Regions from separate parts of the Homo sapiens genome. Here region 1 is linked to region 2. Evidence: promoter capture Hi-C in 16 types of primary human blood cells and fetal thymus (Javierre and others, 2016). All regions are on one chromosome and are shown on one strand. Each heading gives the region's core, a stretch centred on a gene start or on the middle of the fragment in contact. The rest is flanking DNA. Distances are from core to core; before and after follow the strand shown.

What was found. The method cuts DNA at HindIII sites, captures the fragments that hold promoters and counts their contacts. A CHiCAGO score of 5 or more calls a contact.
Region 1: a contact is called between a fragment that was not itself captured here and the fragment with the promoter of TBX2 in region 2, in 1 of 17 cell types (M2 macrophages). The highest score is 5.3, in M2 macrophages.

What each region holds. Positions count from the first base shown.
Region 1 is chr17:61,561,902-61,564,601 of GRCh38, forward strand. No RefSeq gene overlaps it. Among named protein-coding and RNA genes, the nearest start is that of NACA2, 28 kb to the right of the region's middle. The HindIII fragment of the contact is 5,695 bases long and covers 1-2,700 here.
Region 2 is chr17:61,398,498-61,401,204 of GRCh38, forward strand. TBX2 (T-box transcription factor 2) reads left to right here and starts at 1,346. Exons shown (of 7, transcript NM_005994.4): 1 at 1,346-2,074. The coding sequence starts at 1,680. TBX2-AS1 (TBX2 antisense RNA 1) reads right to left here and starts at 1,109. Exons shown (of 2, transcript NR_125751.1): 1 at 742-1,109. RefSeq lists promoters at 303-1,563, 1,183-1,430 and a cis regulatory region at 1,419-1,430. The HindIII fragment of the contact is 11,976 bases long and covers 1-2,707 here.

The DNA.
Region 1 (2,700 bases), core at 32-2,531, 160 kb after region 2:
CCTTGGGTCTTTTTTTCAGTCCCTTTACATTTCCCGTGTTCCACAAAGGTCAAACTACTTTTATAAAAGGAAATTAAATGTTACAAACCAGCACTAAAATGAAATCACTCTATTTTCTCACCTAACCTCCCCACAGTCAGGACGTTTGGAACTCATATCTCCCTATTTCCGCTAAGCTGTGGTTCCCAATTTAAGACTTTAAAAAATATCTCTGGCTGTAATTCGCATGCTGTAATTCTTCAGAAGAGGATGTAATTCTGGAATTTCTTATTTAAAAAGTAATGAATTAATAAGAAACTGGATGCTTCAACTTCTAAATCACAATCAATTTTTTCATTGGTTTCTTATACTGATTACAGCATTCATATATGTACACATGTACCTTCAGTATATGTGTGTGCTTCTATTGTTAAACCCATGCGTATTAAGGAGGCTACCAGGTTATTTATAGGTGCCAATCCTGAACGTCCTCACTTGCATGACAGGTATATTTTGCTTTGTAACACTTTCCTTTGGTTCCAACTGGAATAAACCCACTTTGTGTTTGCTTGTTTGTTTGTTTGTTTGTTTGTTTTTGCGGTGGGAGGAGTTGTTTCTCTCTCCCTCTCTCTCTTTGAGACAGGTCTTGCAGTGTTGCCCAGGCTGAAGTACAGGGGTGCAATGATAAGTTACTGCAGCCTCGTTCTCCCAGCCTCAAGTGAGCCTTTCTACCTCAGCCTCCTGAGTAGCTGGGACCACAGGCACATGCCACCATGCCCAGCTGATGATTTACTTTTTGTAAAAATGGGGTCTCCCTATGTTGTCCAGGCTGTTCTTGAACTTCTGGGGTCAAATGATCCTCCTGCCTCGGCTTCCCAAAGTGCTGAGATTACAGTTGTGAGCTACCATCCCCAGCCAATAAACCCGCTTTGATTAAGGCAAATATAGTTTCAGACACAAGCGATGTAAGTGGGAAGGTTTTCGTGACAAAATTCACCTCTAGTGAGGACACACAGACAATATTTGTTTGTTTGTTTGTTTGTTTGTTTTGAGACGGAGTCTTGCTCTGTCACCCAGGCTGGAGTGCTGTGGCACAATCTCGGCTCACTGCAACTTCCACCTCCCAGGTTCAAGGGATTCTCCTGCCTCAGCCTCCTGAGTAGCTGGGATTACAGGTGCCCACCACCACGCCTGGCTAATTTTTGTGTTTTTAGTAGAGACAGGGTTTCATCACGTTGGCCAGGCTGGTCTCGAACTCTTGACGTCACGATCCGCCCGCCTCGGCCTCCCAAAGTGCTGGGATTACAGGCATGAGCCACTGTGCCTGGCCACAATATGTATGGTAATATTTGAGAGGCAGCATAGCATCATGGTTAGGTTTGTAGAAAAATTGTGCAGAGTCCCGAATACCACTTGCCTCAGGTGCACAAAGTTTCTCCTATTATTAACATTTTGCACCCAGTGTGATACATTGTTACAACTGATGAATCAATATTGACCAATTATTATCAAAATTCATAGTTTGCATTAGGGCTCACTCTTTCTGTTGTACAATTCTCTGGGTTTTGACAAATGCGTAGTGTCATGCATTTACCATTACAGTATCACACACAATAGATTAACTGCCCTAAACATCCTCTGTGTTCCATCTGTGAACCCCTTCCTCCTTCCAGCGAAACCAATGATCTTTTTACCATCTTACAGTTTTGCCTTCCCAGATGTGATATAGTTAGAATCATACAGCTGGCTGAATCATACATTCAGCTGGCTTTTTTCACTTAGCAATACGCATTTAAGATACCTCCAAGTCTTTTGGTGGCTTGATAGCTCTTTTTTTTTCTTTTTTAACAGAGTTTGTTTTTTACAGTAGTTTTAGTTTCACCGTAAGATTGAGTGGAAGATACGTATATCTCCTGGTTCTTTTTCAGTAATTGCTGAATAATATTCCTCTGTATGGATGTACCAGTTTATCCATTCACCCTTTGAAAGTCTTGCTTACTTTCAATTTTTGGCACTTATGAATAATGCTGCTATAAACATTCAGAGCATTGTTGCGTGCACATGCAAAATACTTAGAAGAATACTTGTGCTATAGCAGTACTATGAGCCATTACCTTATTTTAAAGATGAAAAAAGGCCGAGCATGGTGGCTCATGCCTGTAATCCCAGCACTTTGGGAGGCCAAGGCGGGTGGATCACCTGAGGTCAGGAGTTCAAAACCAGCCTGGCCAACATGGTAAAACCCCATCTCTACTAAAATACAAAAATTAGCTGGGCATGGTGGTGGGTGCCTGTAATCCTAGCTACTCAGGAGGCTGAGGCAGGAGGAGAATTGCTTGAACCCGGGAGGCAGAGGTTGCAGTGAGCCAAGATTGCATCACTGCACTCTAGCCCGGGTGACAGAGTGAGACTCCATCTAAAAAGAAAGAAAGAAAAAAAAGATTTAAAAAACAGTTTCAAAGATTTGCCCAATGGCACTCTGCTAAAAAGTAGTAAAGTTGTAAACAGGAAAATATACCTACTGAACTATATATGTTTACTTAAAAAGACCTACCAATACATGCATTCTGTTCAGCTCCACTGATGATACAAAAATGAAGATATGTCCTCTATATATACATGCATAATCTCAATATAATATGCTGAATAGAGAGTTTTTTTGGAGACAGAGTCTCACTCTTGTTGCCCAGGCTGGAGTGCAATGGCACGATCTCGGCTCAC
Region 2 (2,707 bases), core at 96-2,595:
TAGTGCATGCTCTGTCTTTTCCTTCAGAAAACGACCTTCAGGAATCAGCCTGAGTGTTCGCGCCCGAGCCCGATTGGAAGCAGGTGCGTGGTCGCTTCACTCTCCCCGTGCACACCTTGAGTTATAGCTCTCGCTGCGCACAGAGGGCACCACACGGGGCCCGACACACACACACACACACACACACACACACACACACACACACACACCATCACTTCATGGGGGGGAAACTGAGGCTGCCGGAAGACAGAAAACGAAGACTGATCACAGAAGAGGGGGCTTCAATCACAGGTGCTCGCAGACACCCCAACTCCCTCACGCGTTACTCAGCACTCCTTAACTTAGGAGACGTGCGCTTCCGAGAGATGAGAAGAAACTAAAAAAGTGGTTGGCAGGGCGAAGAGAGGAAGCCGGTATTTCGGAAGAAGGAGACTTTCGTCTCCGGTACCGGATAGGGCGAAAATTCGTTGGGTCGCGGGTGGAGAATCCGGGGTCCGCCCGCGCGGTGCCGCCCTGTGCTCAGCGAAAGGTGCGCTCACCTTCCTGGCCCCGAGGATCCGCTCCTCCCGGCCGCTGGAAAGCTCAGGGCGGGGCCCGGGCCTGCGGAGAACTCCAGGTTCCTTCCGAGTCTTCCGGTGAAGGCGGGCGCGGGTAGGGGGTCCCCGCGTTTCCCCAGCGCAAGGCCGCGTCCCGCTCCCGCCCGCGCCGGCCCCAGCAGGGCTCGGCCATGGCTCCACTCACCAGCTCCCGCCACCTGGGATCCGCTCCCGGACCTCGGCCGCCCGAGCCTCCCGACTCGCCCGCCCACCGGCCTCGCTTTCCAGTGCCTGCTGTCTCTTTCCGGGGCGCAGGGACCCCCAGGCGGCGCCACGACCCGGAGCTGGGTCGGAGGCCAGGCTGGGGCTCGGGCCAGAGCGGCCGGGCCTCTGGGCGCGGGAGAAGGAGGGCGCCCCCTCTCCGCTCGGGGTCGTGTCAATGCTTTGCACTTGGGGCCGGCGTGCGGCTGCGGGTCCTTCCCCAAGGCCCCGGGACCCGGGCTCCCCTCGCCTCAGGCCCTTTCGGCGGGTCAGGTCGGCCCTCCGCGCTCTCCAGTCCGGCGCAGGCAGCCGCAGGCGCGGGCGGGCGGTGGGGGCCGGGGCAGGAGGAGGGGTCTCGGGGCCCGGCGGCCCGTCATTGGTTAATATTTTATTCTGTTGACATGTTTTCTTACTGCTGAGGCTTCCGACACCTTCTCCCAGGCCCCCCCTCCCGGCCGGAGCTTGGCCTGAGCTGTCAAAACCCCGCCCCCGGAGACCCACAATTGGTCCAAAAAGCGTAAAATCAGCAATCAAGGGGGGCCTGGCTCGTTAGCGCAGGGGATCCGAGCTGGGCAGGACATGTGAGATAGTCACAGTTTTCCAGAGATCACGACAAGATCTAACCAGTCGCGCGTGGTCCCCGGCGCCGGAGCGGGCCAGCTCAGCCCGGCCCAGCCCGGCCCCGCGCAGAGCCCCCGCCGCCCCCGCGCACAGAGCCGGGTGCCCCTTGCGGTGCGCCGGACGGGAAGCCCCGAGGAGCAGCTGCTGCGCCCGCCACCCGGGTCGTCCGTCCACCGCGCGCGCCGCCGCCCGGGCCGGGGGTCCGAGCCGCGCGCCCCCGGCCCCGGCCCCGGCCCCCGGGCGCCTGGGCCGGATGTCCCGATGAGAGAGCCGGCGCTGGCGGCCAGCGCCATGGCTTACCACCCGTTCCACGCGCCACGGCCCGCCGACTTCCCCATGTCCGCCTTTCTGGCGGCGGCGCAGCCCTCCTTCTTCCCGGCACTCGCGCTGCCGCCCGGCGCGCTGGCCAAGCCGCTGCCCGACCCGGGCCTGGCGGGGGCGGCGGCCGCGGCGGCGGCGGCGGCAGCAGCGGCCGAGGCGGGGCTGCACGTCTCGGCACTGGGCCCGCACCCGCCCGCCGCGCATCTGCGCTCCCTCAAGAGCCTGGAGCCCGAGGACGAGGTGGAGGACGACCCCAAGGTGACGCTGGAGGCCAAGGAGCTGTGGGACCAGTTCCACAAGCTAGGCACGGAGATGGTCATCACCAAGTCCGGGAGGTAGGGCTGCCGGCCGGCTGGAAGGCGCGCGGGCGGGCGGGCGGGCTGGGGCACGGGACTGCACGGATCAGAGCAGAGCTGGGGACTCCCGGCTCCCGGCTCCCGGCTCCAGGTTCTGGCCCTGACGCCACGCTTCGCTCCCACGGACAACCAAGTTGACTTTTCTCGTTTGGCACCGGAGCGATTTTTTTTTAAAACAAAAACGCTAAAATCCTCCGAATGAAATAAAACGAAAACATACTGCTAAAGAATAGCCCCAACCGTTCTGAGTCCCAGCGCAGAGGAGGCCCCGCGGCTTGGCCCTGGCGGTCTCCTCCGCCCCGCGCTCTCGCTCTTCTGCGTCCGGGTCCGTCTCCGAGCTCGGGGGAAATTCAGCCTCTCTCAGACTCTGCTCCGACCCCGAAGCCCCTAGTGGGACCTGGGCCCAGCTAACCCCACGCTGGTTGCTCGGTTCCTGGCAGCGAGCCCCGGGTCAGCCGAGCCCTCCGCCTCACCGGGCTGGGAGCCCTTTCTCCACCGCGGGCATCCGAGCCCTGGACGCATCCGCCGCCCCAGGCCTTAAAGCCTGAAGAAAGCCACAGCCCCGGCCCCTCCACCCTTCGACTCAGCCACCGAGAATCCAGGCCTCGGGTT